Regions from separate parts of the Homo sapiens genome. Here regions 2, 3 and 4 are each linked to region 1. Evidence: promoter capture Hi-C in 16 types of primary human blood cells and fetal thymus (Javierre and others, 2016). All regions are on one chromosome and are shown on one strand. Each heading gives the region's core, a stretch centred on a gene start or on the middle of the fragment in contact. The rest is flanking DNA. Distances are from core to core; before and after follow the strand shown.

Region 1 (5,972 bases), core at 1,421-3,920:
TTTACCCGCCCCCCCCCGCCCCCACCCCTCTTGGGCATTCTCAGAGGGAGCAGTGCCTCTCCAACGGCCCTTGGGTCCTCTCTGATTCATATCTGCTCGTTTCTCAAGGTGGCTCCGAAGTTATTGTGAGACCTCTAATATTCCAAAGGTCAAGGTGTCATAATGTTTGATATAAAGTAACCATTATATTATTGTAGTACCAGCGCAAAATAAAGAGGCAAGGAATCAGGACTTTTCACTTTACTTATTTGCGGAAGTTAAGGTATTTTAGGCAGAGCTCTCTGGGGAACACTGAAAACAGTCTCAAAAGAATTCAGCTACTAAAAAAAAAAAAAAAAATTCAGCCAGCCTGCACCTCAACTTCTTAGGACAAAAAAATAATTTAGATACATTCTCGACGTATATTTTGCTGGTTTATTTAAGTACATAAACATGAAGAAACATTATCCACACAATCCCATGCTTCACTAGTCTCTAATTCTCAGTTTAGGGTAGGATCCCCCAAATACACAATCAATTCCTATATACCTGGGGGGAGAGGTGAGCAATCACTTATTTCAATATTTTCAAAGCTTCACATCATCTAAAAGAGTACTATTGCAGGTTGTAAACAAATCCTTCCTGCTGGTAGAACTAAATTGAAGTTTGACTTACAATGTTCCTCAATTACCTTATGATCCGTTAGTCAATGTTCAGCTCTTACCGAGTTCATAAATCATCTGAGCCAATCTCCCCAACCCGCAGACCGCCCCCCAAGTCCTCTTTAGCCCTCTCTGGAAATCAGTCAGCATTTACGTACACATCACATTTAAGTATACACTGCTGAACCCTACAGGCAGAAATTCATTTCTTTCACAAATATTTACAGAATTCCTACCACGTGCATGGCACTAGAATGAATGCTAGGGATAGAAGCCCAAACTCCATTTCCGTAAGGACTAGAATCTCATTCCTGCCCTCCAAGAGCTTACAATGTAACACTGTGCTAAGAGGCTCTGAACCTACATATGTAACTTTTAATTATACCATGCTGACTTAATAGCATGGCAGGTGATCACCCTAGATGTTAATACAAACTTTACATTCCTGTTGACACACTAAAAGATCTATCATCTAAAAACCAAAACAGGCCAGAATTAAAATCTGGCTACAGACTAAAACTTCAGGAATGAAGTTCTGTCTAAACCATTTTCAGACTTCCAGCATTTTTTTACTACTCACTTTTTTTCTCAGTTATTTTAGCCAAGAGCAAATGAGCGTTAGGCATAACCTTAAGAGCTAGAGAAGAGCATGTTTGTAATTATAAAAGGCTCATTATGCTCCTCTGCATCCCCAGATCCCCATTCAAAGAAAGGGCTGTACAACTAACTCCGGACAACAGATATAATTGGCTTGCCTTTCTTCATTAATATTAAATTTGTGGGAGACAGTCTTGGCGTTTTCACTGCAGTGAACTCGTGAAGTTGAACAATCTCCAAAGAGATGAAACTTTAAAAAGCCTATTCGAAGTTAAAGTCAAATCACACCAGGCAATTTAACTTTGCCTCGGATTTTCCACAACCTTACAAAAATTACAAAGTTCTTCTAAGTTCCTCCATCAAAAGGCCAAATTCCTGGTTTTTTCTTTCAACAAAATGGATGCGTCACAATCTTATTTACATCTTGCCGTTTTAACCAAGACCTCCTTGAATCCCAAGCCTAGGTCTACACTTCCAGGCCCCTGAGAAGACCTAAGAACGATCAAGAAGGGATGCGCGGGTAAGCGTTGTCATCACAACATTAAAGATTTCGAAACTCCCAGACCACCAGAAAGCGTAGAGTATGGGGAAGAAAACCAAACCCAGCAACTCTAAGAGGCAAACTAGACCGGGAGGAAACAATCGGCCCCCAGGACAAAAAGCACATTCACACCTCTCCGTGCAACCCACTCATCCCTTTATACTCGCAGCGCTGCAGCCAAAGCACAAAGTTCTTTCTTTTCACCCAGAGTCTGTGCCTGTCGCGGTTAAACATGAACGGAGGAAAATTCCTAGTCAGAACCCAGAGGGGTAGGACGGGGCTTGGAGTGTGGGGACAACGCCAAGCAGGGAGCTGTCCAGGGGCACTGCCCGCCCGGGGTCTCCAGCTGTGAAGTTGCGCTCCTCGGGAGATTCCTGGGGTCAGAACGAGAGGCTGGAGTCGGAGCGAGGCACAAGGGATGCGGGAGAAGAAAGGAGTGGGGCCGAAGAGGTAGCCAAAGAGAATGGGGCTCCGAGGCGAGAGAGAAAGGACTGGAAGGGGCAAAGGGCGGCCAAGGAGGGCGAAAAGGGGAAGCTGCCGCTGGGCGGGAGACGGCGGAGGAGCGAGACGGGGCGGGGGACCGCGGGAGGACGGGAAGGCGGGAAGGGGAGAGAGCGTGGAGCTCGGAGCTCCAGCAGGCACAGGCCGCGGCAGATAAGGGGGCGCGGAGAGGCCCAGGCCCGGCCCAGGCAGGAGGCGTCGGGAGACGACGCGACCCAAGGCGGGCGGGCCCGGGGAAAACCGCCCGCGGCCAGACCGGCAGTGGAAGCTGAGACGCAGTGCTGCGGCCCCTCCCCGTCACGTCAGGGCACTTACCTCCTCGCAGCTGGGACGCTCCGGTGATGCGGGGCAGTCAGTTCAGAGCGTCTCTCCCAAATCTCGGCACCCGACTGACCCGGATCCAAACCAGCCAAGGGGGCGGCCCGCGCCTCGGGAGTCGCGTTGCGCCTGCGCACTCCGGCATGCACCCCTCCCCCTGCTTATGCTCCTCCCACCCCAGTGACTCGGCAGCGCGGCAGCCGACGACTGCGCAGACGCAGGGCGGCGGCCGCGCCTCTCCAACGCCCCGCACCCGCCCCCCTCAGAAGCACGTGCGCCTTACGTAATTTCCTGTTATTCTTCGGTTTGCCTCCTCCCAGTGGCGTGGATTTGCTCCCGACCCGCTTTTGGGGCGTGCCTGCTTCCTCCTCTCTGTTAGGTGAGTGAGTAGGCGTCATTCTTCACAGTAGTCCTCTGCCTCCACCGCCCCGGGATCTCCTTGCGCTCGGTCCTCTACGTGGAGTCACCTATGCAGAGGAATTCCACGGGGCGGGGGCGAGGACAGGGTGCGGGGGTCTTTATGGCAGACAATCCCCGGCTGAGCGCTTGGCCAGAGTTTCTGTGATGCTAGAATCTGGACTGCCTGCGACCTCTCCGGGACTCGGACACCAGCCCTCGCCTCCTGGTGATCTTTTAGGTCCTGCAGAGAAGTGAAGAGGTATTGGACGTGGCCAGGGTCAATAGTGTGAAGCCAGAATTAGAATTGAATTGAAATGCCTTCGGTTTTGATATCTCTGCTGTTTGTCTTGAGGCAACTGCTTTTCCTCCTTTGGGCCTCTCAGTTTTCCATCTAGTAAGTGAGGAAGTTGAACCTTATCGGTGAATCTCGTGTTTTCAGGCGTAGACTCCTTTGAGAATCTGGTGAGAACTGTAGATCCTCTTGCCAAAGAAATGCACCTACACACCAAATTTTGCAAAAAGATTTAGGCAGTTCACCAAAGGAGATGAATTTTAGGATTCTTTACATTTTTCTGATTCTGAATGTTGCTCAGATGGTAGGCGGGAAAAGGTGATCTGTGCAACAGCTGCCACCCGCTCCATCACCAGGACTGGTTCTGCTGATCTAGCTGTGCCTCTCCTCGCCTGCCAATCTCCAGCTCCACGTCTGCACTGCTCAAAGCTTCGTGAGAACAGATGATTTTGCGCAATTGAGTTGGATGGCGTTGATTGTGGCCCACCCCTAGAGTGAGGGTTTTTCCCTGAACCAAAACTGGCCCCATCCACCGTCATTCCCCAATACCTTAGTTGTAGTCAACTAGATAGGCTGCCGAAGATGGTTTAACTGTGTCCAGCTTAACTACAGCCAGGCTTTGGAATGCCTGGCCTATGTCTGTAAATGAAATCTAACAATTTATTGTATAACGTTGTTAAACATGAAGCATGATGTTGGCCCTGGATAAAACATTTTAAATTCTCGTCGTTCATACCAGAGGCTCAGTAACTGACCGGTTGAAAGAAAACTGTTCATTGTAACCTAATGATGCTAGTTAGATAGCATTAGATTATGTTAGAGATCAGATAACTTGTTCTAGCTGCCTTTGTCCTGTCTCACAGTGCTAGTAAGTCAGGATTTAAACTGCCCTTCTCAACATCTCTTGGACAAGAAAAAGCGGGAAATATGATGTATTTATTTTCTCAGACCTTGCCAAGTGAAATGTATCAAAACCAAACATGTCTTTTTAAGCTGCCACTTCAAAATATAACTTAAGATAAAATCTCATATATCCTTGAGAAGGCCTGGCACGGTAGCTCATGCCTATAATCCCAGCACTTTGGGAGGCCGAGGCGGGTGGATCACTTGAGGTCAGGAGTTTGAGACCAGCCTGGCCAACATGGCGAAACCCTTTCTCTACTAAAAATATGAAAAATTGGCTGGGCATGGTGGCGCATGCACCTATAATCCCAGCTACCCGGGAGGCTGAGGCAGGAGAATCTCTGAAGCCGGGAGGCGGAGGTTGCAGTGAGCCGAGATTGCGCCACTGCACTCCAGCCTGGGCCAACAGAGCAAAACTGTCTCAAAAAAAAAAAAAAAATCTCATATATCCTTGAGGGGAAAGAATTGTCTGGATCGTGATTGAATTCCCAGGGCTTAGCACACTTCCTGGGGATTAGTAGATGCTCAATACAGTTTTGGTGAATTCTCATTTTACCTGCTTTCCATCCCTAATTATATTAAATACCAAAAACTAAAAAGTTACAGTATTTCATTTTATGTAAGCACATCTCCATCATAAAGAGTTAGATGCTTTCCAAGAATGTGACTCATTACTCGGGGAGTACTTGGAAGGTGGGAACCTCTTGTGAATGCTGAAGCCTGTTAACTCACACACCTGACGTGGCCTGAAGTTTTAAGTCATTATACATAGGACTGGCTCACGGTGTGATACATCATGACTTGGAAAGAGATAGAAAAGCTACAAAATGGGATGGATCTGAGTGAACAAAAAGCCAGATCGGTGTCCTATACCAGCAATTCCAAGTCTTTTTAACCATGGGAAAAAAACCTGAATTTGTGTGTGGACTTTATATTGAAGAAATCAACTTTGTATTAATGCACATGGTAATGCCATTTAATTAAAAAGCTGTGGTAGATGTAAAATTCCTCTAACAGTGCTTCTTTCTTGCTACAAGTGTCTTGTACATGCTTTAGTAAGAGAGACTTAATTCCATGAATTTATACTGCAAGAACAATTTATATAGGAAGATAATAGTTTCTCTTAAAAAATAACTTTGGAGAAGCCAAGTCCAAAGTAATAAAGAAAATTATTTGCCTAACCATGTGGCTGCCATCCTACCAGTTGGTAATCTGGAAAATATTCTGTTCTTATGTTTTAAGACTCAAATTAATTTATTTCTTACCTCGATATACTTTTTTAAATGACTTAGGGTAGGCCAGGCGTGGTGGCTCACGCCTGTAATCCCAACACTTTGGGAGGCTGAGGCAGGTGGATCACCTGAAGTCAAGAGTTCGAGACCAGCCTGGCTAACATGGTGAAACCCCATCTCTACTGAAAAATAAATAAATAAATATACAAAAATTAGCTGGGAGTGGTGGGCACACACCTGTAATCCTAGCTACTTGGAGGCTGAGGCATGAGAAGCCCTTGAACCCAGGAGGTGGAGGTTGCAGTGAGCTGAGATCATGCCACGGCACTCCAGCCTGGGCTACAGAGCAAGACCTTGTCTCAAAAAAAAAAATAAAATTAAATTAAAATGACTTTGGGATAGAAGATAGTGATAATGATTATTTGTCTTGATTTACAAGATGTTAGCTCATGTAATCTTCATAACCAATTTGTGAAATGTACTTCTATGATGTCTGTTTTACAGCTGAGGAAACTAGGCTCAGAATAGTTAGATAACTTGTCCAAGGT
Region 2 (5,972 bases), core at 1,840-4,339, 480 kb before region 1:
GAGCACCCTCTGCCCCAAGACACAGCTTTTCCACCGCACTCTCTTTGCCAGGAACCCTCAGCATGAACCTGCAAAGCTTGCCTGTTGCCCAGGGTTGGTGGGGCTGCCTTTCCCCACTGCCTGGTGGCCAGCTGCCTTTTGGGAGCTTGGAGGATACCTACAGAATGCTCCAGGCTGCCACTACATAGTGACAGACGTCAGCTCTATCTTGCTCTGTCTTGACAGAGCCCCTGTGGGTAGCGCTTCCACTAGGCTCACTCCCTTATGGCCCAATTCAGGGAGTTTCAGGAAGAGTAAGTTTTCCTGGTCCTGTTGGCCTATGGTTTATAGACATATATTCTCCACATCACTTTTTCCCCCTATTTCCTGTATGTCAGTTCTCTAGTTCATGCACTTCATTAATCACTGCCATCCAGAACTTTTTATCCCCCCAAGAAGTCTTTGTTTATAATACTTCGTGTAAGCAGTTGAAGGGGCCAGCTGGGTGGCAAAGTTATGATTACTTAAAAAAAAAAAAAAAAAGCAGTGAGCCTAGGCAACATAGTGAGACCCCATCTCTACAAAAAAATAGAACTAGCCAGTTATGGTGGTGCACGCCTGTGGTCCCAGCTAGTTGTTAGGCTTTGACGAGAGGATTGCTTGAGCCTTAGAGGTTGAGGCTACAGTGAGCTATGATTGCGCCACTGCACACCAGCCTGGGCGACAGAGCGAGGACTCTGTCTCAACAAAAAAACAAAAAAAAAACTTAACAGTTAAGATTTCCTCCTGAAAAACTTTCAAAGGACTTAAGTCTTCTACCTGCTGTTTAAAAAAATATAGTTTAATTTTTGACCAGATAACATATTCATATATATTCCCATGTAAAAGATTCTAAAGAGTCAATAGTAAAGAAGGGCTCTCTCTTGTCTTCCCTGGAGGCAGACAATATCAGTTTCTAGTGAAGAGGCAAGCAAATTTTTCTATTAGGCAACAGGTTGAAAAATTTCAGGCTTTGTGGACAGATCTCCATTCTAGAGTATCCTTAAAGAGAAATTTTATGCAAAAACAAGCACATACATATTCATGTCTTCTCCCGCAACTCTCCCCAAATGGTGGCATACTGTATAGACTGCTCTGGACTTGTTTTTGTTTTTTCTTTTCTTTTTCCTTTTTTTTTTTTGAGACAAAGTCTCGCTCTGTCACCCAGGCTGGATTGCAATGGCGTGATCTCGGCTAACTGCAGCCTCTGCTCCCGGGTTCAAGCTATTCTCCTGCCTCAGCCTCTTGAGTAGCTGGGATTACAGGTGCCCACCACACGCCCGGCTAAATTTTGTATTTTTAGTAGAGATGGGGTTTTGCCATGTTGGCCAGGCTGGCCTCGAACTCCACACCTCAGGTGATTGGCCCGCCTCCGGCTCCCAAAGTGCTGGGATTACAGGCATGAGCCACCGGGCCCGGCCTGGACTTGGTTTTTATCAGTTAAACTGGGGGTTGGCAAACCATGGCCCACCAGTCAAGTCCAGCCTGCCACCTGTGGCTGTAAGGCATTTTATTGGAACCTCTGTTCATTTGTTTACATATTATATGTGGCTGCTCTCGTGTTGCAGTGGCAGGGCCGAGTAGTTGCAACACAGACTGTGTGGCTGACAAAGGCTAAGATATTTGCCATCTGGCCTTTTACAGAAACAGTTTGCTGACCTCTGAGCTCAACAGTGTGTCTCAACCTTTCTATATCAGCACAGAAAGAGCTTCCTCACTTTTTTTAAGGCGGCATAATATTTTGTTGTATGGCTGCAGTATAACTTATTTTTAATCAGGCCCTTTTAATGGATATTTAGGTCATTTTTGACTTTTTTTTTTGTTGCTTAAGACAGGATCTCACTATGTTGCCCAGGCTGAACTCAAGCGATCCTCTCGCCTCAGCTCCCAGAGTAACAGGCTACAGCTGTGATTCAACACACCTGGCTCATTTCTAACTCTTTTGCTGCTGCAAATAATGCTGCAGTGAATAAGCTAGTACTTAGCTCATTTTCCACATGTGTGATTATATTTACAGAATGAAGCCTGGAAGTGGAATTGCTCAATCAAAGCCTGTATGCATTGATAATGTTTATAGCTATTGTCAAATTGCCCTCTGTGGAGGTTGTACCAACTGACATTCTCACCAATGTTATGAAAGTGCCCATTTTGCCCTACCTTTGCCAGCAGAGTATTTTAAGCCTTTTGATATTTATCAATCTGCCAGGTTAAAAAAAGAGGTAGCCCAGGGTAGTTTACTTTGCATGTCTTTTATTCTGATGCATTGCACGTTCTTCCATGCATTGATGAGGCGTGTGCTCCTTCCTCAGCTGGCAGTTTACTGTCCTGGTCTGAGGATCTTCTGGGGACTGGTCTCTCTTGCTGACTCTTTCGTGTCATTTTCACAAACAACCTTTTGAGGAAAAAAAGTCTTAAGGACAAACACATGCTGGCAATTAGCGCCATCGACATTCCAGATATCGGGGCTGGGAAGGCAGGGTGAGACCTGCTGGGTGTCATCGTTCTGCTCTGAACTAGGAGGACTGACTTTCAGAGGGTTCTCGGTGTCCTCTTCTTCCACAGCGCTCCTGTTGACACAAACAGCCTCATGTTCCTCCAGATTTTTGATGGGGACCACGTGGCAGGCGTTGTATTTGCAGGTGGCCATCTTTTTGGCTTTCTTGGGGTTCTTTCTCCTGCACGATGCCAGGTGGTACTGGAATCTGCTGAGTGGGATTCGGTGGTGAGGATCATAAGGGCAAATTTCAAAGGCTTCTGGCTCCATGAGAAATTCTTGAAGCAGGGTATCTCACTGCTAGAGTCTAACGGAAATGCTTCTTGTGGAGAAGCCCTTTTGTAAGAAGGATGGAGTTGTCCTCTGCCCAGTTTTGGCCCTTGGGATTCTGTAGGTGACGGTCTTAACTTGTGGTCTGTTCTCTAGGACTGTGAGTGGTGGATTAGAAGAGAGATGAGGAGCTGCCAAAAGCAGCTACACAGAGAACAGAGTTAGCAAATGGCACCCGAGACAGAACTATAGCAGATGCAAGAGCCAAAAACCCACAGCCGCTTGACTCACGGATATACTATGATGTCAAGCTGCAGTCACCGGTGGTCACAATGGGCAGCCTAAGTCATCAGGAAGAGGCTATTGTGCACTGCTTGGGAGGGGTGGATGGCTTTGGGAATGCTGCCATCTAAAATTGCTCATGGATGTATGTTGTGACTTAAGTCTTTTAACTGTACGTATTTGTTTTTTGTTTTTGTTTTTGTTTTATTTGAGACAGAGTCTCGCTCTGTTGCCAGGCTGGAGTACAGTGGTGCGATCTTGGCCCACTGCAATCTCCGCCTCCCAGGTTCAAGTGATTCTCCTGCCTCAGGCTCCCGAGTAGCTGGGATTACAGGCACCTGCCATCATGCCCGGCTAATTTTTTGTATTTTTAGTAGAGACGGGTTTCACCATGTTGGCCAGGCTGGTCTTGAACTCCTGACCTCAGGTGATCCACCCGCCTCAGCCCCCCAAAGTGCTGGGATGATAGGTGTGAGCCCCTGCGCTTTGCCAGGGCTGGTTTTTGGATGTGATTCTCAGGGCCGTCTTTCTTTACCCTTCTGCTCTGCTGAGGCCCACAGCAGCCTAGTCTCCTTGGGTGTGGGGGAAGGGTTTAAATCTATTCATATATCGCAGAAGGTGAAGCCTTTTGGTGTTCAGCTTAACATGGGAAACATTTCCTATAAAACGCCCCATCTTAGGTCGACCCTGCCGTTGTCCCTCACAGAACTGGACCAAAGTCTGAATGGACGCAATTGACACATATCTCAGGGTGTTAGTGGTTTTGGTCCTCTGACATTCTATTTACATGTCTGGTGTTAGGTAGGATTTCTTCTAAAAATTGGCCTGGAGCTCCTTCCCACCCCCCACCCTGTTAAATTGTTTCTCAAGATCTGAGTGACAGTAGAGAAATACCATATTCCTGAATAGGAAGACTCAAAATCATAAATGAATATTCTCTGTAAACTAAATTACATAAATTACATAGTCATCCTAAATTGATACATAAATATAATGCAATTCCAAATAATTTTTGTAGCTTTATGTGCTGATATCTGATAGAGCAAGTCTCTGCTTGTTATTAGTTTTCCCCCCAAAAGCCTTGACTATCTTCAAGGATTTGTTATTCTAGATCATGTGTCAACAAACTATGGGCCCATGATTCAAATCCAGATGGCTATCTGCTTTTGTAAATAAAGTTTTATTGAAGCACAGCCACACCCATTTGTTTATATATTGTCCATTGGCTGCTTTTGAGCTAGATTTGAGTAGTTGCAACAGAATCCAGATGACCTAGAAACCTCTAATGTTTTCTGTCTGGCCCATTATAGAAAAAGCTCACCCATCCTATTCTTGGTGGTGGTTAAGGAAGCTGACTGTATTCAAATTCTACCTCCTGCCACTTACCAGCCATGTGACCTTGGGGAAGGTGTGTGTGTGAGTGTGTGTGTGTGTATGTGTGTGTGTGTGTTTCCTGGTATTTACTAAGCTCTATTGATGGTGTCTTTTCAGGTAGGCTTTGTAGTTTTCTTTCTATTTTTTGCACGTTAAAAAAAAATTAATCTATGATGCTTTATGGTTTTTTCTTTTTCTTTTTTTTTTGTCATTGTAAATGACACTTTTTCCATCTCTCCACATCCTAGCTATGGTGTTCAGCCTTTTTTGAGAATTGAAGTGATTGGCTTTGTCTACATTGTTACATAATTGCAACTGATCATACATGTGGGATGTCTTGTTACTATCATATGACATGCAGACAATTTAGCAACATGACACTCACTGATGTCATAGTAAGAAATTGTAATGGGAACCCAGGTATAGACAAAAGATTAGACAAAGGATTCTAAAAAAAGGCATCTTTCATAACTACACCATTTATTCTGGGTGTGCCAGTCAGGATAGGCAAGGTTAGGCTGCAATAACGTACAGTGCCAAAACTTCAGTAGCTTAAAACAACGAAGGCTTATGAGTCACTTTCAAGTCTAAAGCAGGTTTCTGGGTTGGGGAGGGGTATTGGGGATCTGCTCCTTGTGGTTAATGGAGCCAGGCTGATGGAGCCTCCATAGCAACACTTGCTTCCTTCTAGAAGAAGGAAGAGGATGTGGGGAGTCATGCGCGAGCTTCCACCAGGAAATGATAAACATCACTTCCGCTACTGTTTCATGGTTCAAAGTAAGTCCTACCTAACTTCAAAGAGCAAGGAGGTACGGTCTTTCCACATGCCCAGAAGGAGGAGAATAGGAACTTTGGGAAGTCCTGAGGGCTTCCCCAGTCTGCCCTTCTCGTCACCAGCATTCATTTCTCTTTTCTCCACACACACGGAGCATATTCTTCCCCATGGAAGAAAACCCAAAGTCCTAGCTCAGAGTGGGGGATCAATGGCTTACTCAGTGCTCTCCTGGGGCTTCTTGAGATCTTGAGATCTGGCTCTTACCCCAGACCAGTGGAATTCTAGTGCCTCAAACCAAGCTGGCTCCTATGAGGAGTATGAGGCCAAGAAGTTGTGTTCCCTGTACCCCAACCCACTCACCCTAGGGATAGCTCCTGGTTTGCTCTGCTGAGTGTCCTTGGTAAACTGTACCTTCCATATCATGCATGTAACACAGAGCCCATTTTCTTCAAGCCTACAGCCCACTATTAAAGGAAATATGGTCGGGTGCAGTGGCTCACTCCTATAATCCCAGCACTTTGGGAGGCTGAGGTGGGCGGATTGCTTGAGCCCAGCAGTTCGAGACCAGCCTGGGCAACATGGCAAAACCGTATCTCTACAAAAAATACAAAAATTAGCCTGCTGTGGTGGTGCGTGCCTCTAGTTCCAGCTACTCGGGAGGATGAGGTGGGAGGATCGCTTGGGAAGTTGAGGCTGCAGTGAGCCTAAATTGTGTTACTGCACTCCAGCCTGGGCAGCAGAGTGAGACCCTGTCTCAAA
Region 3 (5,972 bases), core at 2,068-4,567, 430 kb after region 1:
AAAAGGCCAGAATCCTGGGAACTGGAGGAAGGAGAAATGGGTGAGGACAGTTAATGAGGCAGGCCTGAGTCCCAGAGCTGGAAAAAGGGCCACTGAATTGGGCCTAGCAGGGCTCAGGCCAGGGGCTCCCCTCCTCCTTCCATTCTTAGCCCATATTTGTGTGCATTTACAGACACCCATATCTGAGTGTGACAAACTCCCCAGTCCCCTGCCTGCTGACTTCAGGCCAAGCTCCAGCTGGCACCTGCCGCACGCCATCTCCAAGGCCCAGAGGTGGTGTGAGGAATGGACGATCAGACCAGTGCCCCTCCCGGCGGCTCCTTTCCCCTTTCTCTTAGCCCCACCCGGCGCTCCCAGCCCCTGGCTGCAGCTGATGAGCCCTCCGTGACCCCTTAATGAGTGCCTGGGTTCGATCTCATCTTGGTGCCCCACTGAACGACCTCATTAGGGGCCTTGTGGCAAGTTGGCGGCTTGACATGGGCAAAGGCCAGGCAGAGATAAGCCAAGAGGTTTCACCCCACTTAGAGATATAAGCTCCAATTAATAAGAATATTATCATTAAGTGACATTTATGGAGCACATTAATGTGTGCTAGGCCCTGAACTAAGCATTTTACGGGCGTCACTTACCAAAACCTCTAACTGACAGGGGGTAATGGCCAGGGCCATGGACTCGGGGGCAGACTATCTGGGTTCAAACCTCCGCCCTGTGCTTACTGGGCACCTTACTCCACCTACCACGGCTCAGTCTCCTCATCTGTAAATGACGGCAATAGAGTTCCTATCTTACAAATTGTTGTGAGGCTTCAATAACTTAACCCGGGTAACGCACTTAAAGGAGTGTTTGGCACACAGGAGGTGCTACTGTGCTTATGCCTTGCAGTTAAATAGGAATTAAATCAATGGCAGCTTCCTGGGGCAGAAGAAGGTCCCTGGAAGTGCGAAAAGATGGAGAATAGTGGACTTACCAGAAATCTCTCAGGGAGTTGGTGGAGATGCTCCCGAGAGTTGGGGGCAACCCCCCGGGATCCCTCATTCTCTCCATGAGGGCAGGCCTCTGAATAACAGGATTCTGGCTTATGGAGCAGAAATGTTCAAATTTGGGTCCCGAGCTGAATTTCAAGACTGTGACAGAGAGGCTGAGTTCTTTCAGCTCCAAACAAAATGAGTGTTGTGCAAACATCCGAGGAACACAGGTCTGCGGGGGCAGGGCTGGGTGGACAAGGAGCCCCTAGCTCCTAGGTCATCTCTCTAGGGAGGGCCTGTTCTTAGCCTCAGTTGATAGAGACCAAGTTCGCAGACAGGAGATAATATGTCCAAATTTGAATCCAGATCCACTGGCCTTTAAAGTCCCTGCCCTTAAAAGCTGGTCCTAAGAGAGGAGCTGCTGTGAGCCCTTGAGGTCTGGGTAGGAAGGGAAGAACCTTCCTCGCTGGGGAACAGGGGGACCCTCTGGCCCCCTAGCATCTCTGAGAGCTGAGGCAGGAAGTGTGTTCTCACTTGGAAGATGCAGAGATTTAGGCCCAGAGTTGGGGAGCCACTTTTCCGTGACTCCTAGCAGGTTATGACCCTGATGATGTAGTAAAGCCTTAGGGGTCAGACAGCCTTGGGTTCAACTCTTGATCTGCTATTAATTTGTGTGACCGTGGACAACTGTCTTGGCTGAGCCCATTCCCTCCTCAGTAAAATGCAGAGAGCGTATCCTCCTCTTCCAAGCGTGGAGGAATTCAATGAGCTGATAAAGCCCAGCCCAGCTCTAGGAGATGCTCAAGAAATTGTACTGGCATCTCATGTGAGCACATCACCTGCTATATATAGGCTCTCAGTTAAGTCAAAAGACAGGAGCCAGGCACAGTGGCTCATGCCTGTAATCCCAGCACTGTGGGAGGCCAAGCTGGGTGGATCACTTGAGGTCAGGAGTTCGAGACCAGCCTGGCCAACATGTGAAACCCCATCTCCGCTAAAAATACAAAAATTAGCTGGATGTGGTGGCATGTGCTTGTAATCCCAGCTACTCAGGAGGCTGAGGCAGGAGAATCACTTGAACCCAGGAGGTGGAGGTTGCAGTGAGCCGAGATCATGCCACTGCACTCCAGCCTGGGCGACAGAGCAAGACTCTATCTCAAAAGAAAAAAAAAAAGACGGATTCAGCCCTGGGAACTACCTTCATGCACGTATGTGGGTGGGTGGGGAGAGCAGGCTCAGGCCTGGCTCACCTGACACCAGGAGGACAAGACTCAGAGGCCCAGAAAGCTCAGGAGTTGGTCTGCGGGTCTCCAGCTCAGTGCTGAGGCCTCCATGTCCTCACAGTCCCACTTCTGGCCTGGAGCTGGCTTGATTCCCACAGGGAGACAGGAAGGAACAGTGACCCTGGAATTCCCCAGGGGCCTCTGGGTGGAGCTGGGGACCCCACTCAAATCCCAGGGAGAGAGGGCTCTTCTGTATGGACTTACCTGCCATAGTATAAGATGGTTTCAGGCTTGATGGATCCGTCTAGGTGGACATGCAGTTCCACCTGCAAGGGGGCAGGGGGAAGAGAGAGAGAAAGGGAGAGAGAGAACAAATACCTATGAGTTCACGAAGGACCTTTCAGAGCTTAATGTTAACATTAATCATGATAACCATTAGCCACCATTTTACTGGCTGGCTGCTGACCCCATATACTTCGGTAAACTCTGTACTGCACTATCTCATTTAATCCGCTCCTGGGATGTGGGTTCAGCTGTTATCTCGATCTCTTTCACAATTGAGGACACTGAGGTTCGGAGGTGTTAAATATCTCATCCAAGGCCACACAGATTGCAAGTAATAGAGGCAGGAGCCCAACCCAGTATCTTTGTTCTTAATCGCAGCTGGTGAGTGGCAGAGGCGGAATTCTAACCCAAGCCCAATTCCAAAGCTTGTGCTCCAGGTCACGTAGGCAGCTCCCGCTCTCAGCCAACTAAATAAACTACTTTAACAAAAGGGATTGACCCAGATGTCCCAAACTAGGGAAGAGTCACAGCATATTTCAAAATTCAGGATCCATTTTCGTTTTCTTTTTTTTGAGACGGATGGAGTCTCGCTCTGTCTCCCAGGCTGGAGTGCAGTGACATGATCTCCTCTCACTGCAACCTCCACCTCCTGGGTTCAAGCAATTCTTGTGCCTCAGCCTCCGGAGTAGCTGGGACTATAGGCAGGTGCCACCACGCCCAGTTAATTTTTGTATTTTTAGTAGAGACAGGGTTTCACCATGTTGCTCAGGCTAGTCTCGAACTCCTGACCTCAGGTGTCCACCCACCTCAGCCTCCCAAAGTGCTGGGATTACAGGTATGTGCCACCGCAACCGACCCAGGCTCCATTTTCAAAAGCAGATGCTACTCAAGCATAGCCTATCAGGAATCAATATTAGGCAACGGAAGATCTTTCTAGTACTCTAGAGTTTAAGAGTAGGATCCTTGGAGGCAGCCCATCTGGCTTGACTCCCAGTTCTGCTGTGTGACCTCAGACAAGACACTTGACCTCTCTGAGCCTCAGTTTCCTCAACTGAAAAACAATGGAATATTATGCCCCCGTGTCCAAGAAAAATTGTAAGGATTAAAAAGGGCAGTGTAGGTGGACATGGATAGCCCAAAGGAAACAGCCCCTGCCGCTCAGTCAGGGTGTTTACCATGAGCTGTTAGGAGAAGCACAGCAGGCAGTGGGAGATGGTGGGGAAAGGGACTTTGCTGTTCCTGCTGTTCCTGTTCCAAATGATGGAAGCTTTCCCCCTAGCTAGGGGAGATCCAGAAAACTCTCAGCTGACATCTCATGCTGGGGTGGGGAGCATGGAGAGCTGGATAAGAAAGTTGGCTGCCCTGGCTCAGGGAGGAACAGCCAAGGAGCTGCTGGCCCAAGGGCGTCTAGGAGCACATACATGAGCTGCCTCCTGCAGAGGAAACCCAACCCAGGCCCAGGGGAGGCCAGCAGGGAACAGAGACACCAGAGGTCCTATCAGCAGGACCTCAGAGTCATCAGATCTCTCCTGAGGTCATCCAGCTGGCAGGGGACAGAGCGGTCTTCACACCCAGTCTCAGGGCCAACTTAGTTGTTGAATTCCCTGACAAAATGAGTTCAGTTCCCACCCAGCCAAACGTCTGTTTCTCGGGTTCTCAAAATATGCTCAGCATTGGGAATACTGAAGCTTATAGCCCAGGGAACGGCCAACCAGCTGTGTGACCTCAGGCAAGGGACCTCAACTCTCTGAGCCTCTGTTTTCTATCCTTAACCCTCACAGGGCTATGGAGAGGGCCCAGCCAGAGAGCCGGAGTCACACTGTATAGAGCATCATGCGGTTAGAGCTGGAATCTCGGCTCCTCCACTCACTCCCTGCTTGACCCTGAGAAAGTCACTTCACTTCCTGTGCCTCGGCATCCTCATCTGTTAAGTGGGGAGAATGGCAGTCCTTCCTTCTAGGCTTCATGAGGGTTAACTGCATTAGTAGGCAGGGAGTTCTTGGCACATAGCAAATGCTAAATAGTTGTCAACTAAAAGTCAATGAAGGCTGGGCATGGGGGCTCACGCCTGTAATCCAGCCACTTTGGGAGGCCGAGGTGGGTGGATCACCTGAGGCCAGGAGTTTGAGACCAGCCTGGCCAACATGGTGAAACCCCATCTCTACTAAAAATGCAAAAAATTAGCCAGGCGTGGTGGCGCACACCTGTAATCCCAGCTACTTGGGAGGCTGAGACAGGAGAATCACCTGAACCTGGGAGGCAGAGGCTGCAGTGAGCCGAGATTACGCCACTGCACTCCAGCCTGGGCGACAAGAGCGAAACTGCATCTCAAAAATAAAAAATAAGAATAAAATAAAAGTCAACGAAGGCCTGCGCTCCTGCTGGATGCTAGATTGTAGAGTTAAACAGGAGGGTCCAAGTCCTGTTCCTGGGGCTTGTACAGGCCCCAGAGTGGGAGAGGCATTAAGCAAATGTCACATGGGAAAATGTACAGTCACAAACCAAGACGACTCCTTGGGAAGTACGAACACAGTCCTATGACAGAGGGTAACAAACAAGAGAAGTGAATACATCTAGAGGGCCAACAATGAGCCTGAGCGAAAAGCTAGAGGATAGCGAGGAACCCACAACACAAGGCAGGGGTGCGGAGGGAGGCAGGAAGAAAATTCCAGGCAGAAGGAACAGCATGTGCAAGGCCCTATGGCAGGAGAAAACGGGGTATATGAAATGGATTAAATAGAGGTTCAGAGAAGGGAGGGTTCATGGTACTGGAGAGGCTGCAGGATAGGACCACCCAGGCAGGGCTGTGCGGGCCACGAGGAGTCAGGCTTTATCTGGAAAGCACACAGAGGCCATTGCAGGGTTGGCAGCTGGTTAGAGAAAGAGGATGGCTCCTCCAAGGCCAGTTAGAGGCTACTGCAGCCATTTGAAAGATGACGGTGGCTTGGACCAGGGTTGTGAGGTGCATAGAGGAAAAACAGGTGGATAGAAAGAGATGCCAAGGCTCACACTTCAGGTTAGGCCTGGGTGGGGAGCAATTCCCGCAGTTTGAGACAGAGAACTCTGGAAGAGAAGACCAAGTCCTGGAGCTCCCTCCAGGAGGGAGGATGCGGGGGAGGGAGGCATGATTGGTTTGGTTTTAGTTATGTTACACTAGAGACACCTTTTGTTTTTTGTTTTTTTAAGACGGAGTTTCACTCTGTTGCCCAGGCTGGAGTGCAGTGGCTCCAGCTCAGCTCACGGAAACCTCCACCTCCCGGGTTCAAGCGATTCTCCTGCCTCAGCCTCCCGAGTAGTTGGGACTACAGGCACCCACCACCATGCCCAGCTAATTTTTGTATTTTTAGTAGAGATGGGGTTTCACCATATTGGCCAGGCTGGTCTTGAACTCCTGACCTCAAGTGATCTGCCCACCTCGGCCTCCCAAAGTGCTGGGGTTACAGGTGTGAACCATCGTGCCCAGCCAACTGGAGATGCCTTTGAGATATCCAAAGGTAAG
Region 4 (5,972 bases), core at 1,288-3,787, 270 kb after region 1:
TGGGATTACAGGCATGAGCCACCAAGCCTGGCCTCTTTCTGGATTTTAGTTTCCTCTTCTGTAAATGGGACAATCCTAGCTCGCTGTTCACAGGGTCATTGTAAGGTGAAATTAAGATCATACAAGCACAGTGCCTGGTATATATAATTCAAAAAGCAGAAACTCTTTTTGTTGTCATTGTTTATCGGAGATGTTCTAATCCTGATATAATCTGGTTCTCTAAAATGTAATACCAAGAGGAACAAGAAATAATGGCCCTCAGTTGAGGGAAGAGGCAGGGATTTCTGGGGCATCTCTGAATCCTCTCCCTGCCCTGCCCTTGAGACCAAGTTCTTCTCCTGCTGGCAACATCTAGGATTGCCATCTGGGCTCCAGGTACCAGTAGTAGGTCCTAGGTTTGGGTTAAGGAGAGGGGTGAATTTATTCCAATACCTAGGACAGCCTGGTTAGGACAGGGTCATCCCTCACCCTTTGCCACAAGAGCTGCCATTTGGCAGGGCGCAGGAGAATGGCTTGAGCCCAGGCAGCCTCCCAGGTGGCTGGGATTACAGGCCTGGCTAATTTTTGTATTTTTAGTAGAGACAGGGTTTCACCAGGTTGGCCAGGCTGGTCTCGAACTCCTGAACTCAGGTGATCCACCTGCCTTGGCTTCTCAAAGTGCTGAGATTATAGGCATGAGCCACCACATCCGGCTGTTTTGGGGGGTTTTCTTTTTGAGACAGAGTCTCGCTCTGTCGCCCAGGCTGGAGGGCAGTGGCATGATCTCGGCTCACTGCAACCTCTGCCTCCTGGGTTCAAGTGATTCTCCTGCCTCAGGCTCCCGCATAGTTGGGTGTGACAGCCGGAAGTGGGGGCCTCGGATTACAGGCGTGTGCCACCACGCCCAACTAATTTTTGTATTTTTAGTAGAGACAGGGTTTCACCATGTTGGCTGGGGTGGTCTCATCATACTCCTGATCTCAAGTGATCCACCTGCTTCAGCCTCCCAAAGTGCTGGGATTCCAGGCGTGAGCCACTGCACCCGGCCTTACCTTACGTTTTAAAAGATCTCACAGATGTGATTAATGTAAGGATCTTGAGATGGTAAGATTATCCTGGATTATCTGGCTGAGCCCAATGTAATCCCAAGAGTCCTTATAAGAAGAGGGAAGCAGGAGGATCAGTCAGTAGTAGAGGTGACAACAGAAGCCAGAGGTTGAGGTGATTTGAAGAAGGGGCCATAAGCTAAGGAATGCAGGTGGCCTCTACAAACTGTAAAAGGAAAGGAACTGATGCTTCCTCCAAATCCCCAAAAGAATGCAGCCTTGCCAACACCTTGATTTTAGACTTTTGACCTAGAGAACTGCAAGAGAATATATCTGTGTTGTTTCAATCCATGAAGTTTGCAGTAATTCCTTGTAACAGTAACAGGAAAATAATACATAGATTTAGCAAACAAAACAAAATCCAGGATGCCCAGTAGTCATATTTGAATTTCCTATAAACAACAATTTTTAAAGTATAAATGTGTCCCAAATGTTGCATAGGACACACTTATCTGTGTGTATGTGTGTGTGTGTTTGGAAAGGAACATGCTTAAATGTTTATCTGAAATTCAAACTGTAGTGAATGTTATATATTTTGTCTGTCAATCTTAGAAGTGATGAAACTGAGAGCAGGAGTCAAAACTCATGATTCCCAGGTCGCCTCCATACTGCTGCCCCCTGCCCCTCAATCTGGCAGAAACTGCCACGTTCTTGTGGCCCTCATGGGTCACTTCCCATCTTCTTGGGACTCCTCTTGCCCCTGGGGTAGGAAAATGAAAAGACTGTTTAAGGTCGTTTCTTTAGGCTCAGAGTTCTCCTGGACCACCAGAGGTTCTGCCTCAGAGGGACCTAGGAGATTTGCCTCAAAGTTGCAGTTGCACAAAATACTTGCGGGCGGATCTTAATGGACTGGGGTGGGAGTTAGTAAAGCCTTTGTCTGGAGGGAACGTAATGAACCCCAAAGCAGGAAAAAAGTAATTATTGAATCAGGCTCCAGAGCAAGAATCAGGTTTCAGGTAAGGAAACGGAAGCACAAGAAGGAATGGGGACTTGCTCCAGGTCACTCAGTTAATGACAGACAGATGTCCCCTGGTTTGGAGTCTCCCTTTTTGGAGCAGCTAGTCCTGATAGCAGCCATAGTGGGGGGAAGTCTAGAATGCTAATCCTGAGGTCCGGGTTTGAAGCCCTTTACTGCCTTGATTGCCAGTTTCCCTTTCCTGAAATAGGGGAATTGCATAAATATGAGGAGTTAATGAGATCATGGATGTTAAACAACAGGTACATGTTAGCATGTTCTTGGAAAATGGCAGCTTCTTTCCTTCCTTCTCTGAGCCTCAGTTTCCCCATCTATAAGCCGGGTTTGACAAGCGGCTGGTGCCCCAGCTCCTCCCAGCCACTCCAGGTCCGCAGCTCGGAGCTCCGGCAGCCAGGTGGGGACTGAACACCAACGCCGCGGGGAGGCGTCGCACATGCGCGCTCCTAGGCGGAGCCCCGCCTCCCACGCCCTGGATCGTCACTTCCGGCGCGAGAGGCCGGGCAGGCCGGGCAGGGAGTGCGGGTCGGTTCTGCGTGCGCTGCCGGACGAGGCTCCCGCCGCCGATTGACCCGCGCTCCGCCCGTAGTCGGGCCGGTGAGTGCCCGCGAGCCCATCCGTGTGCCCTGGGAGCTGAGGAGAGGGACCCCTGAGAGGGAAGGATAACCGGAAGTGGGGACCAGAGGAGCGAGAGACCCCAGGAAATGGGGACACCTGGGGAGGGGGTGACAGCCGGAAGTGGGGGCCTCGGAAGGTTGTCCACGGGATATGGGGTCTCGGGGGCTCTAGGAGAGATGGCTTCCTGACCTCTCCTTGTTGAGAGGAAGGGGTGGAAAGGAAAGTGATGCTCCAGAAAGGATGGGCTCCAGGTGGGGGAGATCTTTGGCTTCACCGTTACCAATGGTGTCTGCATCTCACTCATATGTCCGCCTGTCAGCTCATTCACCAGCCTGTGACTGAGTCCTGCTGAGCGCTCGGCACTGCTGAGTCCCTGGAGAGTCAACATGAAGCTCCAGGTGGAGGGTACAGATTAGAAGCCCAGGGTGGGGCTAGACGCATCCTTGCTCTGCCTCACCGGGTGTGCCCCCTTGGGCGAATCGCTTAACCTATATCCTCCGCTGATGTGTACAGACCACTGCCATGTGCCCGGCACTGGGGGTGGCAGTGGACATGGCAGACAAGCCCTCTGCCCTCGTGGAACTTAGATTCTAGGGGACAGTCCTTTTTGTCCTCCTTTGTAAAATGGCAACAGTAATAGCGCTCTCACCAAATAACGTGAAGATTAAATGAGGAAATGGGTAAAGGGCTTAGCAATGCTTGATACATGGTAAAATGCTCAAGTATGCATTCTCTTCATTCCACTATAATGTAAGCTTTATTAGGCAAGGAATTGTATTGTTTGCGTCTGTGTTCCCAGTGCCTGTGAGCACAGTGCCTGACATATATGGTAGGTGATCGGTAATTATTTGATAAATGAGTGCGTGGTGAAACTGACTCTAGATAAATGCCCATAGCATTGGACTGTAATTTCTAAAAAAGAAATAGGAACCCAGTTCTGTGGAAAACTGGAGGGAATCACCCTCAGGGAGTTTGGGAAGGATTCACTGAGGTGGTGACATGGCAGCTGAGCCTGAGCTGTCAAGTTAGGAACAAATTAGAAGAGGAAATTCCAGGCAGAGTGTATCAGAAGTGCACGAGTTATTCCAAGGATGATGGGTTATTAGTTTGTTTTGACTGGCATTTAATGTGCATCAAGGTGGGGTGCGATGGAAAATGAGGCTGGAGAGGGGCTTTGAGGTGAGGCTTGTACCTTGTGAACACTGATGTTTGATGGGATTGCAGGCATCTCTTGGTTACTTCCATAGAAACAAAGCCATAGTTGTTCCATTCCTCACTTAGCATACCTGTGCCAACCAGACTAAAGTCATTCAACAAATATTTATGGAGTGCAGATTATGTGTCTAACACCATGTTAGGCGCTGGGTTTCAGGTGATGAACAAGACAAACTTGGATGTTGCTCACAAATTGCCAACAGACAATTGCAACAGGGTGGGAGAAGTGCGGGGGAGGCACCTAACCTGGCTGGGGGTCAGTGAAGGCTACCTACTCCAGGCCACCAGCATCTCTCAGCTGGATTATTGCAATAGCCTCTAAATGGTCTGCTTCAGTCCTCACTCCCTTAGAGTCCATTCTCAAGACAGCAGATTGGTCCTTTTAAAATATATTTTTATTTATTTATCTATCTATCTATTTATTTATTTATTTATTTATTTATCTGAGATAGCGTCTCGCCCTGTCGCCCAAGCTGGAGTGCAGTGACATGATCTCGGCTCACTGCAACCTCCGCTTCCTGGTTTCAAGCGATTATCCTGCTTCAACCTCCCAAGTAGCTGGCACTACAGGCCCGCACCACCATGCCTGGCTAATTTTTGTATTTTTAGTAGAGACAGGGTTTCACCATGTTGGCCAGGCTGGTCTCGAACTCCTGACCTCAGGTGATCCATCCACTTCAGCCTACCAAAGTGTTGGGATTACAGGCATAAGCCACCACACACAGCCCAAGAAAAAATTTAAAAATTAGCCAGGCGTGGTGTGTGCCTATAGTCCCAGCTACCTGGGAGGCTGAGGCAGGAGGATTGCTTGAACTTAGGAGTTCGAGGTTGCAGAGAGCTATGATTGCGCCACTGCACTTCAGCCTGGGTGACAGAGCAAGACCCTGTCTCTCTCTTAAACAAAAAAGTGCATGAGTTCAGGTCCTCTAAGAAGCAGACACTAGGATGAGGTTAGACGTGCTAGAAATGTAGAGGCAACCCTTGCGAAGGACAGCACCTGGGAAGGGAGCTGGAGAAGTCAGGAAGAGCCACTGGCAGTGATGCAGATCAGCTCCTGTGAAGGAGGTTTGGGCAGCAAGTCTCTGACTGCAGGGCAGTCCCAACAAAGGTTTGGCCAGGCCCTCAAGCAAACGCTGCCTGTTAGAGGAGTCCTATGTCTCACTAAATCATTGGCTAGGAGCAGTGAGGCCACAGAAGGGCTGTGGAAAGTTCTGGCTTCCCCTGGATAGTGGATCTAGAGGGACAGCCACTGGGGCCCTTTATCAATTACGTTTTCCCAGCAGATCTGACCGGCACATATTCCCGACTGCCACGATAAGTTACATGGGTGTGTAGTAAAAAATTCAAACAGTATAGTAAAAATCCTCTTTCTCATCTTAAATCTTCACTTGTCCAGTTCTGTTCCAAGAGATAACCATTGGTAAGTTTCTTATATCTCTTTCCAGAAGTTTTGTGTGCATTCACAAGTGTATGTGTATAGTTTAAAAACGTGATTTTCTGTACACTATTCTGCAACTTGCTTTTTTAATATGTCAATTCATAAAGATCTGCCTACTTTTCGCTTTTTTTGTTTGTTTGTTTTGAGAGGGAGTCTTGCTCTGTCACCCAGGTGGGAGTGCAGTCATGATCTCGGCTCACTGCAAGCTCTGCCTCCCGGGTTCACGCCATTCTCCTGCCTCAGCCTCCCTAGTAGCTGGGACTACAGGCACCTGCCACCACGCCCGGCTAATTTTTTGTATTTTTAGTAGAGATGGGGTTTCACCGCGTTAGCGAGGATGGTCTCGATCGCCTGACCTCATGAGTCGCCTGCCTCGGCCTCCCAAAATGCTGGGATTACAGGCGTGAGCCACCGCGCCCGGCCCCCTAATTCTTTTTCATGACTGACTAGTACCCCATTAATATGGTAATATTACTTAACCAGTCTCCCCTGATAGGCAGTTAAGATGTTTCCAATCTTTTATCATTATAATCAATACTTGTGAAGGCCATGTGCATATTATGCATATATATACAAGTATATGTCCTAGAAATGGAATTGCTGACCCAAAGGGCATGTAGGTTTACATTCTGAAGATATTGAC

The links. Contacts are between HindIII fragments. The CHiCAGO score rates a contact against its expected background, and 5 or more counts as called.
Region 2: a contact is called between the fragment with the promoter of GTSF1L here and the fragment with the promoter of OSER1 in region 1, in 2 of 17 cell types (non-activated CD4 T cells and naive CD8 T cells). The highest score is 8.4, in non-activated CD4 T cells.
Region 3: a contact is called between a fragment that was not itself captured here and the fragment with the promoter of OSER1 in region 1, in 1 of 17 cell types (fetal thymus). The highest score is 5.6, in fetal thymus.
Region 4: the fragment with the promoter of TTPAL here is called in contact with the fragment with the promoter of OSER1 in region 1 in 15 of 17 cell types (megakaryocytes, erythroblasts, fetal thymus and 12 more); the score reaches 19.1 in megakaryocytes.

What each region holds. Positions count from the first base shown.
Region 1 is chr20:44,208,101-44,214,072 of GRCh38, forward strand. OSER1 (oxidative stress responsive serine rich 1) reads right to left here and starts at 2,671. Exons shown (of 4, transcript NM_016470.8): 1 at 2,596-2,671. It overlaps OSER1-DT (OSER1 divergent transcript), which reads left to right and starts at 2,860. Exons shown (of 3, transcript NR_038339.2): 1 at 2,860-2,977. RefSeq lists an enhancer at 2,081-2,700 and silencers at 2,360-2,429, 2,625-3,073. The HindIII fragment of the contact is 3,146 bases long and covers 571-3,716 here.
Region 2 is chr20:43,723,913-43,729,884 of GRCh38, forward strand. GTSF1L (gametocyte specific factor 1 like) reads right to left here and starts at 3,090. Exons shown (of 1, transcript NM_176791.4): 1 at 2,252-3,090. The coding sequence starts at 2,782. The coding sequence ends at 2,336. LOC101927200 (a long non-coding RNA gene) reads left to right here and starts at 5,007. Exons shown (of 4, transcript XR_936741.3): 1 at 5,007-5,215. The HindIII fragment of the contact is 9,111 bases long and covers 75-5,972 here.
Region 3 is chr20:44,633,775-44,639,746 of GRCh38, forward strand. ADA (adenosine deaminase) reads right to left here. Exons shown (of 12, transcript NM_000022.4): 2 at 2,453-2,514. Among named protein-coding and RNA genes, the nearest start is that of ADA, 15 kb to the right of the region's middle. RefSeq lists enhancers at 1-5,972, 1-2,900, 375-704 and a cis regulatory region at 822-971. The HindIII fragment of the contact is 842 bases long and covers 2,897-3,738 here.
Region 4 is chr20:44,473,337-44,479,308 of GRCh38, forward strand. It overlaps TTPAL (alpha tocopherol transfer protein like), which reads left to right and starts at 2,538. Exons shown (of 5, transcript NM_001039199.3): 1 at 2,538-2,655. RefSeq lists an enhancer at 2,334-2,423 and a silencer at 2,514-2,643. The HindIII fragment of the contact is 9,114 bases long and covers 1-3,429 here.